Regions from separate parts of the Homo sapiens genome. Here regions 2, 3, 4 and 5 are each linked to region 1. The links are contacts of gene promoters, found by promoter capture Hi-C in blood cells and fetal thymus (Javierre and others, 2016). All regions are on one chromosome and are shown on one strand. The core of a region is centred on a gene start or on the middle of the fragment in contact, and the rest is flanking DNA. Distances in the headings are between cores, read along the strand shown. Region 1 holds the start of HES1 (hes family bHLH transcription factor 1). Region 2 has its middle 42 kb from the start of LINC02038. Region 3 has its middle 21 kb from the start of LINC02038. Region 4 has its middle 7.0 kb from the start of LINC02038. Region 5 has its middle 24 kb from the start of LINC02038.

The links. The method cuts DNA at HindIII sites, captures the fragments that hold promoters and counts their contacts. A CHiCAGO score of 5 or more calls a contact.
Region 2: a contact is called between a fragment that was not itself captured here and the fragment with the promoter of HES1 in region 1, in 10 of 17 cell types (total B cells, naive B cells, megakaryocytes and 7 more). The highest score is 19.5, in total B cells.
Region 3: a fragment that was not itself captured here is called in contact with the fragment with the promoter of HES1 in region 1 in 6 of 17 cell types (total B cells, M1 macrophages, M0 macrophages and 3 more); the score reaches 11.9 in total B cells.
Region 4: a fragment that was not itself captured here is called in contact with the fragment with the promoter of HES1 in region 1 in 8 of 17 cell types (total B cells, megakaryocytes, naive B cells and 5 more); the score reaches 13.5 in total B cells.
Region 5: a fragment that was not itself captured here is called in contact with the fragment with the promoter of HES1 in region 1 in 1 of 17 cell types (total B cells); the score reaches 5.6 in total B cells.

The regions. Positions count from the first base shown.
Region 1 is chr3:194,134,824-194,137,455 of GRCh38, reverse strand. HES1 (hes family bHLH transcription factor 1) reads right to left here and starts at 1,308. Exons shown (of 4, transcript NM_005524.4): 1 at 968-1,308; 2 at 744-839; 3 at 408-495. The coding sequence starts at 1,075. RefSeq lists enhancers at 1,182-1,341, 151-1,350 and a silencer at 2,341-2,632. The HindIII fragment of the contact is 7,369 bases long and covers 1-2,632 here.
Region 2 is chr3:193,800,513-193,803,144 of GRCh38, reverse strand. No RefSeq gene overlaps it. Among named protein-coding and RNA genes, the nearest start is that of LINC02038, 42 kb to the left of the region's middle. The HindIII fragment of the contact is 1,297 bases long and covers 644-1,940 here.
Region 3 is chr3:193,822,037-193,824,668 of GRCh38, reverse strand. No RefSeq gene overlaps it. Among named protein-coding and RNA genes, the nearest start is that of LINC02038, 21 kb to the left of the region's middle. The HindIII fragment of the contact is 5,516 bases long and covers 1-2,632 here.
Region 4 is chr3:193,849,711-193,852,342 of GRCh38, reverse strand. No RefSeq gene overlaps it. Among named protein-coding and RNA genes, the nearest start is that of LINC02038, 7.0 kb to the right of the region's middle. The HindIII fragment of the contact is 3,497 bases long and covers 1-2,632 here.
Region 5 is chr3:193,867,174-193,869,805 of GRCh38, reverse strand. No RefSeq gene overlaps it. Among named protein-coding and RNA genes, the nearest start is that of LINC02038, 24 kb to the right of the region's middle. RefSeq lists a silencer at 1-166 and an enhancer at 1-336. The HindIII fragment of the contact is 9,161 bases long and covers 1-2,632 here.

The DNA of each region.
Region 1 (2,632 bases), core at 59-2,558:
CTATCTCAGCCCCAGATCTGTCACCCCCACCCCCGCGCGCGATGTGACCTTGGACAATGCCTCCCAATCCATCATCCAAGCCTCATTTCCCCTTCTGCAACGGGAAGGAGTGCTAAACCAGTGACCCCCAGGCTCCACGCAGTTCCAAACCGCCACAGTCCTAAGTCCTTTCGCCCCTACCCGGCGCCCGCCACCCTCGCGGCTGCAACCTCTTTCCCTCCCTTTCCGGAACAGTAACAACTTGGAGTTGTGGCTATAAATAAGCCCCAGACCGTGGGAACGCAAGAGTGAGCCAAGGCAGTAAAATGTAGCTGAATGCCTCTCACAACCACGGGCGGAAGTCTGGAAGAAATCACCGCGAGGCGAGCGGGACGCCCGCACAGGGGGACGCGGCGAGCCGCCCTCACCCGTCATCTGCGCCCGCTGCAGGTTCCGGAGGTGCTTCACTGTCATTTCCAGAATGTCCGCCTTCTCCAGCTTGGAATGCCGCGAGCTCTGCATAGAGTAGGCAAGAAAGGAAAGTGAGCCCCGTGTCAGCTGCTTCAGAGTGCTGGGGGTCCCTCCTCCCGGCCACGGAGCGCAAGCATTATCTCTGGACCCCAGCGAATAAGGCCGGGCCCTCCCGCCTGGGAGAACGCAGTACCAGCGAGTGCCAGACCCCGCAGGGCGGGGGGTTTCACTCTTAGTAGCTGAGAAAGTGTTTGTTTTTTAATTAAAAGAGCGAGCAGCATTTCCCCACTTACATCTTTCTTCAGAGCATCCAAAATCAGTGTTTTCAGCTGGCTCAGACTTTCATTTATTCTTGCTCTTCGTCTTTTCTCCATAATAGGCTTTGATGACTGCAAATAAAAAAAAGAGTTCTGTGTTCCCATGGAATCTGCCATCCCGGGGTTTCAAGACAGAAAGAAGCCCCCCAACCCCTACTTAATTTTGAGGGGCTGCAAAGAGATACAGGTACCGCCCTTACCTTTCTGTGCTCAGATGCTGTCTTTGGTTTATCCGGTGTCGTGTTGACACTGGCTGGGGTAGCAGCCACCGGGGACGAGGAATTTTTCTCCATTATATCAGCTGGCATTTTCCTTTTTTTTTTTTTTTTATCTCTAGAGAATTTTATTTTTGGAGTTCTTCACGAAAAAGAATTTTTTGTTTGTGTCTCTTTTACTTGAGACTTTCACAAAACTACTGAGCAAGTGCTGAGGGTTTATTATATTTTGTGGCTACTTGGTGATCAGTAGCGCTGTTCCAGGACCAAGGAGAGAGGTAGACGGGGGATTCCGCTGTTATCAGCACCAGCTCCGGATCCTGTGTGATCCCTAGGCCCTGGCGGCCTCTATATATATCTGGGACTGCACGCGAACGGCTCGTGTGAAACTTCCCAAACTTTCTTTCCCACAGTAACTTTCAGCCAATGGGAGGAGGAGACACGCGGCACCGCTCGTGGACCGCGCCCCCCCATTGGCCGCCAGGCACAAGGTCTGGCGGCCAATGGCGCGCGCCTGAGCCCAGGGCACCGGAGGCTACAACGTCAATCAAAAGGATTTTAACCCTTTGCTACTCTCCCTCTGGGCTTTGGTTTAGAGATTTTTTTTTTCTTTCCGCTTTGGTCTTGATCTTGTCTATTTCTTTTGGAGCCAGGGTCTTTGCTCTTTATGCCCTCTCTCATATGTAACAGAGCTGCTTTGACTGTAGTAAGTTCATTTGAAACATATTTTTTTTAAAGGTATAAACAATAAAGAAAAAAACAGCAGTGGTTAAAAGGGGGCGGGGGGAGGGGGGGACGGGTGTAAGAATGTGAGTTACCGACACATCTAAAGTTCCCGCTCAGACTTTACATTCAGGAGGGTGAAAGTAGATGGTAAAGGAAAAGGGCCAAAAAAATTTTCCTGTTTCCATGCAGAAAAAGGAAAAATTGCCTTCTACCTCACAAATGCAGGTTTTTCGGAGCAAGGTAGTTCTTGAATCCCACCCCCACCCCGTCTTTCAGAAATTCCTCGTTTGGATTTGGGGCCTTAGACCCCGGGCTTCCCCAGGAAACAATCAGAATAATTTCCAACTGGGTGGAAGGAAACGGTATTTCAAATGAAAAAATGAACAAGGGGGGCTCCGAGGGCAATGACTCAGGGACTCGCGCCCTCCTTCACCACCCTTTCCCTTTTCATCCGTAGGCTTTAGGTTCTGCGGCGCGTTGAGGTGGCGGGCAAGGAAGCAGCCTCTCCCTCCTCGCCCCGCGGGCGGCCTCGGCCCCCGGCGCCCGCGGGCCCTTTAAGAGCTACACCAGCCGAGCTGCAGTTTGACATCAGCCGGCCGGCGTGGGCGCGCCTGGAGCCGGAGCACGTGCCAGGATGTTTTATTGCCGCCGCGGCTGCGGCCGGGCCGGGAGGATGTGTGTGTGCGTGCGTGTGTGAGTGAGTGTGTGTGCGCGCGCCCCGGGGGCAGGGAGGCGGGGGGCGGCGACGGGCGGCGGAGAGCGGGGGCCGGTTCCTGGTCCCCGGGAGAAGCCAAGAAGGTAAATAGCAGCTGCTGTGCTCGAGCCTGGGAAAACCCCGCCCCCTGCGCCTGGCCCGGGCTCATTGGCGCGCGCTGCGTGTGGGGGGTGTGTGTGTGTGTGTGTCCGGGGCCCCCTCCTCCGGCC
Region 2 (2,632 bases), core at 43-2,542, 330 kb after region 1:
ATTATTGAAAGAGAATAATTCAGGGTGATGTGATAAAGAATGCTCCAGATAGAGAGGTCCTGGGAGGTATCTCTGGGGCAATGACATTTGGGTTTAAGGGGTGTGAAGGAGGTAGCTGTGCGATCATCTGGGTGAAGATATAAGCCCACGCTAAGGGAACAGCAATAGCAAATGCAAAAGTCCTGAGGAATAGATTTAGTGGGTTAAGAGAACAGAGAAAAAGCCAGAGTGACTGGTGTATAATTAGTGTTTAGGGTGGGGAGGTGGCTGGTGTCCTAGAAGAGGAGATCTGAGGGAAGGACGTGAAATGAATTATATAGTCTCTTACAGGTCAGGGCAAGATTCTATTTTATTCCTTTTTTTTTTTTTTCTTTTGACGCAGTCTCTCACTCTGTCACCCAGGCTGGAGTGCAGTAGCGTGATCTCAGCTCACTGCAACCTCTGCCTCCCACCTCACCCTCCCGAGTAGCTGGGACCACAGGCGTGCACCACCCTGCCTGGTTAATTTTTTTTTGTATTTTTTGTAGAGACAGGGTTTTGCCATGTTGCCCAGGCTAGATTAGATTTTATTCTAAATGCACTAAGATGACTTTGAGGAATTTACACTGGGAAGGCCATATTCTGATTTATGCTTTAAAAAGCTTGCTATGAATCCCTCTCTTAGTAATTAATAGGACAAGTATACAAAAAAGTAAACAGTAAAGATATAGATCCAAACAACACAACTTAATTGATATTTATAGAACTTTCCACACCCAATAAGTATAAATACACATGATTTTCAGCTGCAAATAGAACATTGACTGAGATCAAACATTTGCTGAGGCCCAAAATATATCTCAAAATGTTTCCAATAATTGAAGTATTACAGAATGTATTCTTCCAGCAAACAAAACTAAGCTACAAGCCAATTACAATAAGATACCTAGAAAATCCTCCAAATATTTAGAAATTAAATAACATGCTTCGAACTTGGACCTGGGTCAAAGAATTAATTAAAAGGGAAGTTAGAAAATATTTTGAGGCCAGGCGTGGTGGCTCACACCTGTAATCCAAGCACTTTGGGAGGCCGAGGTGGGCGGATCACTTGAGGCCAAGAGTTTGAGACCAGCCTGACCAACATGGTGAAACCCGGTCTCTACTAAAAACACAAAAATTGGCCAGGCTTGGTGGAGCACGCCTGTAATGCCAGCTATTTGGGTGGCTGAGGCATAAGAATCACTTGAACCTGGGAGGTAGAGGCTGAGTGAGCCAAGACTGTGCCACTGCACTCCAGCCTGGGCAACAGAGGGAGACTGTGTCTTAAAAAAAAAAAAAAAAAGAAAGAAAGAAAAAAGAAAATATTTTAAACTGACTGATAATGAATATACAACATACCAAAATGTATGGTATGCAACTAAAGCATTGCTTAGATGGTAATTTATAGCTTAAATGCTTATATTAAAAAGAAGAAAGGTTTAAAATCAATGATCTAAGTATCTACCTTAGAAAGCTGGAAAAATAACACATTAAATCTAAAACGGAGAAAAAAAGTATGAACATAAGAAAAAAGAAATAAATGAAAGACCAGAAAGCAATGAAATAAAAACCATACTCCAAATAGAAACAATTGGCAAAGCCACGCTTTATTCTTTGACAAGATTAATAAACTTTACAAATCCTTATGAATTAATCAAGAAAAAAATAAAGTAAACATAAATGACTTATTTCAAGGATGAAAGAAGGGATATCCTATAGATCCTACAGACACTAAAAGGATAATAAAAGAATACTATGAACTCTGTCAACAAAGTCAATAATTTATTTCAAGGAACATATGTCTCAAAAAACATAACTTACCAATGCTGACTCAACAAGAAACAGAAAATCTAAGCAGCCCAATTTCTATTCAAAAATTTCAATTCATCATCTTATTCAAAAACATTCCCACAAAGAAAGCTTCAGACCCAGATGGTCTCACTGGTGACTTCTATCACATACTTATAGACCCATTTTACAGAAGCTCTCAGAAAAAAAGAAAAGAAATGACCATTTCCCATCTCATTTTATGAGGCCAACATAATCCTAACTTTAAAAACCTGAGAAAGACATTTTTAGGACAAGGACTCTCTCATCCCCACTGCATGGATGAAGCACACTGAGGCTTGGAGTGCTGACACGACTTGTCCCAAATCTCGGGACATGAAACGGCAGCACTGGGGCCCAGGTTCCCATCCCAAGAGGTTTTTGCTACCATGCTGTCCTCTAGAAGGTGGCCCCTTCACAATCTGCAGATCACATCCTGTAGGCAACAGCTCACACCTGCTGGGGCCAGGAGACAAGACCTGAGGAATGCCCCTTCTCCACTTCCTACCCCTAAAGGAATGTGGATGGTGGGTTTTGCACCCCATCTCGCCCATTGTGTGAATCTTCCTATTTACAATGAACAGCTGTGTGAGGCCAAAGATGTATGTGTGGTTATAGGAAAAAAACTTCCATATCACATCTGGTTTTGTCATTTGGGCCAATAATCCTGTCTAGTCCATTATGTATTGCTCTGTGTAACAGATACGGCACAGAAGGAATGCTTAAAAGTTTTAACAGGAGAGGAAGTCCCTGCCAGATGAAGATAACGGCAGGATCACAGCATGGT
Region 3 (2,632 bases), core at 48-2,547, 310 kb after region 1:
TGTACATCTACCCTATAAGCAAGCAATTCCACTGCTAGGTATTTGCCCAAGAAAACTATGTTTATACAGACTTGTATAAGAAAAATATGTTCCCAATAAAATTGTAAAGAATGTTTATGGCAGTCTTATTCAAATATTGAAGAACTGGCAGCAACCCAGATGTCCACCAGGAAGTACATGGATAAACAACCTATGGTATGTCCATATAATGGAATATCACTAAGCAATAGAAAGGAACAAACTATTTATATATTCAGTGTAACATGGATGACTGGCAAAACCATTATGGGAAGTGAAGGAAACCAGACCCAGAATAGTACACACTGTATGATTCCATTTACATGAAATCCAAATGTAGACAAACGAATATATAATGTTAGACACCAGTTTGTGGGTTTATGTAAGTGTTTTGGGGTGTTAGGTGGGGGGTTGTTGACCAGTTAGAGGCATGAGGGAACTTCCTCAAAGAATAGAAATGTCTTATATTTTATTTTGAGGATTATGACATGAATGTGTATGATTGTCAAAATTAATCATACTAAACATTAAAACCTGAGCATTTTTTTCTATGTAAACTTTATTTTAAAACAAAAATAAAATAAAAACCAGGTCTGGGTCTGGCATGGTGGCTCACACCTGTAATCCCAGCACTTTGGGAAGCGGAGGTGGGCAGATCACAAAGTCAGGAGTTTGAGACCAGCCTGGCCAACATGGTGAAAACCCGCCTCTACTGAAAATACAGAAATTAGCTGGACACGGTGGCAGTGCATGCCTGTAATCCCAGCTACTCAGGATACTGAGGCACGAGAATCGCTTGAACCTAGGAGGCGGAGGTTGCAGTGAGCCGAGATCGCGCCACTGCACTCCAGCCTGGCGACAGAGTGAGACTCCGTCTCAAAAAAAACAAAACAAAACAAAACCCAGGTCTGGTGATTGATATATATTTGACCCTCACATTTCTAGCTTGAATGTTTGTGTGGATGGTGGTGACACTAAGACAGATGAAGGATGTGAGAGGAAGAGAAGGTAAAGGAGGAGAAAGATGAGTCAAATGTTGTATCAATGGAGTATGTGGTGTCCATTATCACAGGCACCAGCTAATGATATCCTGAAGGAAAAAAAAAAAAAACACTAACAAAAACAAAACCACCTGAATCAATGAGTCTGAAGCTCAGAGAAGAGGTCAGGATAGGAACATACCCCTGACAGTCACTTGATCATTGTGAAAAGCAGGAGTATGAGTGAAATGATGCAGAGAGGAGCTCTGGCATTAGAAAGCAGTGGCCAAAGGCTGGATCCTGAGAGGCAACACTCATTACCGGGTTAGCAGAAGAGAGCGTTCCATGAAAGAGACTGCAACTCATCCCGGAGGCATGAGGAGAACCAGGAAAGGGCAGAACCACAGTCATTCAAAGCCAAGAGTTTTGTGGGGGTTTTTTTTTTTAATTCATTTGTTTTAGTAGGTGTTTCATGTATTAAAAGACTTTTCTAAACCAATTTACTGTGGCATAAATTACATGCCATAAAATTCATTCATTTGAAGCATATGGGTCACTGAGTTTTAGTGAATTTATACAGTCCTGTAACCACTACCACACTCAAGTTTTAAAACATTTTCATTGCCACAAAAATTTCCCTCACACCACTTTGCCGTTGATCCCTGATCCCAAGACCAGCCCCAGACAACCACAGATATGCTTTTATCATTAGAGTTTTGCCATTTTTAGAAATTTCATACAAATGGAATCATGTAGTCCTTTGTGTCTGCCTTCTTTCTTTTAACCTGTTTTTGAGATTTCTTCATGTTGTTGCCTGAATTTGTAACATATTTCTTTCTTCTGGAGCATAGTTTTTCACTGTATGAATAGACCACATTTTGTTTAACCATTCATCAACTGACAGACATTGCCATTGCTTCCATTTAGTGTTATGATGAATAATCCTGCAACGGATATTGACTTACAACTCTTTGGTAGGACACAGATTTTCATTTCTCTTGGGTGAATACCTAGGGGCAGAATTGCTGGGTTGCATGGCAAGCACGTGTTTACTTTTAAAGGAAAATGCCAAACTTTTGCAAAAAGGCTCTACCATTTTACCTTTCCACTAGCAACTTACAAGGATCCCAGTTTCTCTATGCCTTTATCAACACTCCATATTGTTTTGTTTTGTTTTTTAATTTTCCTAGCAGGCATATAATTAGATCTTATTGTGGTTTTAATTTTAATTTGTATTGCCCTAATACCAGTGGTGTTGAACATTTTTTATGTGCTTTTGGACTATTCATATATCTTCTTTGGTGAAACATTTGTTCATATCTTTTGCCAATCTTTTAATTGGGTAGTTTCTCTTGCTATTAAGTTATAAGGGTTCTTTATATATTCTTAATTCAAATCAGATAGTTTGCAAATATTTTCTCCCAATCCGTGACCTTTCATTTCCTGTCACTGAACAAATTTTTAAATTTCGATGAAGCCTAATGACTAAGTTTTTTTCTTTTATAATTTGTATTTTCTGCTTCCTAAGGAATCTGCTTAACCCAAAATTATTAAAAAAAAATTTCTTCACTTTCTCCTAGAAGTTTTATAGTTTTAGTCCTGTAATCCATTTTGAATTAATTTTTGTATATGGT
Region 4 (2,632 bases), core at 46-2,545, 290 kb after region 1:
TAGAGCCCTCTTAGGAGAGAGATTTTTTTCCACAGGTTTCTTCTTGGCCCTCTGGATTTGTTCTAAGCTGGCTTTCTGTGTGTGTGAGTTGTCTTGGCCTTTCTGGTTTTCTTTCCCTTTGGAACTTTCAGATCTTTCCATTGTGCACGATGTCCCTGTGAAAAGGCCTGAGTCACTCGGCCTCAAACTTTGCAGCCCCAAACATTCCCTCTTTGAATTAAGGTCACCTGTGTATGTCTCCCCACTCGGTAGAGGAAAGGGCACTTCATCGCCCTGGCCCTGGGCCCAAGGACCCCCTTGGGAGCATTGTCGAGGGACTTTTTCAGATGAGAGGCTTTCTGTAAAAGACTGACAGGGACTTCTTAGGACAGATGACCTTTAAATATATTTTCCAATTCTGATTCTGGGATTCTAAAATGGTGTGTGGACCCCATACAATGTCATTTGAGCAGGAGCAGACAGAACTGGAGATAACTCAAAGGAGATGTTAGAGCTGCCTTTAAGATCCTTGGAATACAGAAACAAGAAAGACATTAGTCCTAGGATATGTGATCTCAGAAGGCAGAAATTTTGGCCGGAGTTTTATGACAGGATGGGAGTTTACAGTTGATCTAGGAAAGGAATCCTGATTTACCAGTCAGATCTGCTGGAGTAAAGCCCAAAGACCTGGTTTTGAATGCTCACCGCTGCCTAACATCTGTGTGACCCTGGGCTACTGACCTGACTTTGCTGAGCCTGTTTTCCCATAGGCCAAACAGTGATAAGGCTTGCCTTGATTCTGCCATCCGGCTATTGTGAAGAGGAATAGGATAAGAGAAAGTGCTTGTAAATTCTGAAGTTCTAAAGATTTAATCCTACTGTCCAACTCCCCTGTTTGATGGAGTAGATAACCAGAGAATGGAGAAGTTAAGAAACTTACATGAGAGCACACAGTATTGATCTAAGGTAGTAGCTGATAAGGCCTCACATCTACAAGAGATAATATATTGATCCCTAGCAGCTCCAGGATAAAAGGCTTTTGGGGGGGCCTTGGGGCCATGACGCAGCCCCAACTTCCCACTGGAGTTTCATCTCACTCTTAATTTTATTTTCTGATTATGAAAATTATATGTGCTCACTGTGTGGAACTTGTATAATACAAAAAGCACAAAGTAAAACATGTTAAAACATTTTAATAATTCTGCTATGTGGACATATCTACTGTTGAAATTAAGATATATAACCTTTTAGCCTTTTCTCTGTGCATGTACATATTTGAACATAATTGGAATATTTCATGCAAACTTTTGTATATTGACTCCTTTTTCACCTGATGGTTTGTTGTACACTTTGCCATTAAAATTCATTAAGCAGTATCAAATGCATAATTTTCCACTGTGTAAGAACATAACAGCTTGTAACAAGTCCTCTACTGTTGGACACCGAGGTTCTTTCTTGTTTGCTACAAACAAATGTGTTGAACATTCTTACCTGTGAGTTGTTGTTTTCCTGGCCTGTCTTTAACTCCCAGCACCTTTCATTCAGTCCAGGTAGCTGCCCACATGTTAAGAAGCGGGATCTGAAGGAAAACCTGCATAAGGCTCTACATCAAATGCTGAAAGTGCTGCCCCACCAACAAGCAATGCTTCCTATAGGTTCCCTGGGGTGATTTTGGCCATTCTCTAAAACTCTGAGTTTCTTGTCTTCTGCAGAGACTCACAAATGTTTGTTTGCCCCAAAGTGTTATAGGTTTATCCTGATAATATGTGCAATACGATATACAGCTGAGGCCCTAAGCCCTATTAAAATATCTTAAGGTATTTTATTTAAACATATATATTTTACATGAAGTTTTTATTTTTGCCCTGTGTTGCTTTCAGTGATGCTTAGGGTAATGAAGTTTCACTTTTCTTTCCTGATGTAGGTTTCTGATTGGACATGGGTCCATGTCCTTGTGAAGTCTCCTCCTCCTGAACCTGCCCTGCTCTGTGACTTGCTTTTGACCACCAGCATGCTGCAGAAGTGATGCCGTGTGACTTCTGAGTGGGTCATAGGAAGCCTTGCAGTGTGGCCTGGGTCTTCAGGAATGCTTGTTTGAGGAAAACCACTGTCATGTAAGAAGTATGGCTACCCTGAGACTGTCATGGTGTGAGGACTCCTAAATGAGTCACATGTGGATGGCCACCTATTCAGGCCTCAGTTCTTCCAGCCATTGCGACTGTGGCCCACGCATGTGGGGGAAGAGGCCATTTTTCACGCCCATCCCAGTTGAGTCTTTAGATGATCCCTTCCTGGGCCTCCAGCTGACTGTAACCAGACTCCAGGCAGGAACCACATAGGAACTGAACCCAGTCAACCCACAGGCTGGGGAGGATGATAGTCCATTGTTGTATAAAGCCACTGCATTTGGAATGGTCTGTTGTATACTACCTAATCAGAACAAGACTCAATCCTTTCTTCATAGCTGGTAGTCTTAAGCATTTATTAATTCATATTTTAGTCACATTATGAATTTTCTATCACAATAAGCATTTATTGAGCACTTTTTATAGAGGGACTATGCTAGGCTTGAAGAATAAAAGACACATAGGACACGGCCCTGCTTATGTTCAGGTAGCTGTGGTCTAAACGAGGACGCACACATAAGGTGAAG
Region 5 (2,632 bases), core at 54-2,553, 270 kb after region 1:
GGGGCTCCTCGCTGGGAGCGGAGTGTGTCTGCAGGGCTGGGGGCGGGAGCCGGGACCCACAGCCCGACAGCGAGCCTTTCATGTGGGCAGGGGGCTTCCCGCACGCAATGCGAACCTACGCCTGGAGCTTCCCAAAGACAGCGTCCGGCGCAGGAACGCGAGATGCTGGCCGCCTCGCCTCTGGCCCCCGCGAGCATCAAAGCGCGTGCCGTCGAGGGGGCACGTGTCCCCCATCGGGCGCGCCTCTGCTCCTAGTCCCCTGAATGAACACATCCTTATGAAAAGTGGAAATTAGCCGCCGAAGGGAAGGGCCCGGAGAGCTTGGGAAGCGACCTAGGCTGCCAGCCTCCCGGCGGGTCTTTGGTCCCAGCTCTGATGACCTGTCAGCAGCCGCAGGACCTGCGCTTAAAGGCGCCTCTCCAGGCCTGGCTCAGGGTGGGGCTCCTCGTGCTCAGCACCCTGGTCAAGGTTAGGGCTGGGTGTGCGCTGGAGGCTTGGAGTGCCAGGGCACCCAGTGAAGAGCGAATGAATGAACGAGTGAACACCGGACTGGGGGCCTGCAGACGGTTCTTCGCAGGTTAATTAGAAGGCCTCTAGCAAGCTGCAGCGGAGGCATTTCAGGCATCCTTCAGAGAGGACCCTCGGCCTGGCTCCTAAGGGCCCCTGGTCTGGCTCTCACCCCCTGCTCTGGTGGCATTTCTGCTCACTCAGCCTTTACCCTTTACACGCCAGCCGCTCTGAACAGTTTATTCTTCTGGGAGCACATCATGTTCTTGCTCACATCCAGGTTTTGCGTAAGCTGTTCCTGCTGCAAGGAAAACCCTTCCTGTGTCCTCCTCAGGTGAGAGCTCCCGCAGGCAGCTTCTCCCCGGAGTCTGGCGTAAGTGTTCCTCCTCTGCACGCCTCTGAGGACATTTGCAAAGGTCTGTCATAGGGCTTACCACCCCGTTACCTGTTTGTTTCCACCAGGGAGTGCGCTGAAGCTGAGAGGGAATGAGTGAGTGAATGAAGGGCTTGAGAAAGGAAATTTCTTCACCCTCCAGTGCCCTCTGGGTGGGTATTGAGACAAGCTCTACAGGAAGCCTAAGAAAACTAACTGCTCTAATTCTGTCCTTCCTTTTGCAATGTTTAGGCAACTCCTGTGCATCTGTAGGTACCATTGTGAGGTTACTGCCCTGGACTGGGGAGAGATCCACACACGCAAGAGTGCATCTGGCATCAGTATGTAAGAGTCAAAACTGACACACAGTTCTTCATCTCATGGAAATGAAAACATGCATGGCCGGAATGATCTTATACCTGCTTCTCTTGGGCCAGGTCACCAGGCTGGCCCTGAGAAGTATGTGATGGCATGGAGAAGAATCCTCACACATCCTTGCAGTTCTCTAGGATTTGCAAGGCATTCCCCCCATTGCTGGACTCACTGGATTTGAGTAGGCCTGTCTGCCCCTATTTTAGAGATGAGCATATACACCTTACAAAAACTGAGTCTTGCTCAATGTCTGGCAAAGAAGTCTTCCTTTATCCAACAATCCTGAGAGTCTAGCGGGTGTTGGGCACCATAAAGATGAATGAGGTGCGGTTCTTGCCACCAGGCAGTGCCCGGGCTTGTCAGGGAGACCCATGTGGAGCATGACAATTGCTACCTTCTTGATACGGGCAAAAGGATGTTGAGTCCAGTGGAAGGAGAGGCTTGTCTGGCTGTGAGATCAGCAAAGTCTTCACAGAAAAGGAGAATTTTAAATGGGGCCTTGAAGGGGAAGTGTCTCCTGGAGATGGAGAGAACATAGCGAGGAGAGTGCGGTGAGGTGGGGGGTGGCAGGGGAAGCACATCACTACGCGGTGCTTAGGGCCGAGTCTGAGCCAACCTGGGAGTGGCACTCAGCTCCCCCAGGCCCCCGAGATGCATGTTCAGCAGCATCCAGCGGCCTCCTGTGAAGCGACTGGGAGTCCACAGAGACAACAAAAGCAGATGTAGTGATGTGTAAACTTGAAGTTTCTAGAAGTTCCTTTGGGCCCCACCAAATCTCTGTGGCAATGAACCAATCCCACATGTTCCTGTGGGTAATGCTCCCAGAGGGCATGTGACTTTGGGCATCATTATTGGCTGAAAAAGGAAACTGGGGTAGTAGTTAGAGAGTGCTATGAACTGAATGTTGTGTGCCTCCCAAATCTGTACACTGAACTCCAAATCCCACTGTGGTGGTATTAGGTGAGGGGGCCTTGGGAGGTCATTAGGTCCTGAGGGTAAATCCCTCATGAATGGGATGAGTGCCCTCACACATGAGACCCCAGAGAGCTCTCTGGCGGTCTTTCTACCATGTATGGCTGCAATGAGAGGTCTGCAGCCTGCACCTGGAAGGAGGCCCTCAATGAACCTGACCAGACTAGCATCCTGTTCTCAGACTTCTGGCCTCCCAAACTGTGAGAAACAAGTTTCTGTTGTGTATAAACCATCCAATCTATGATAGTTTGTTATAGTAGCCAAACCGACTAGGACAGAGAGGATGTAAGGAGCCAGTGGAGGACTCTTTTAATGGAGAGACTACAGCATGTCTCAGGCTGAATGGTCCAGTAGGGAGAGCAAAAACAGTGCCCATGCATCACCCTGAGGTCTCACCCAACCCTGCTG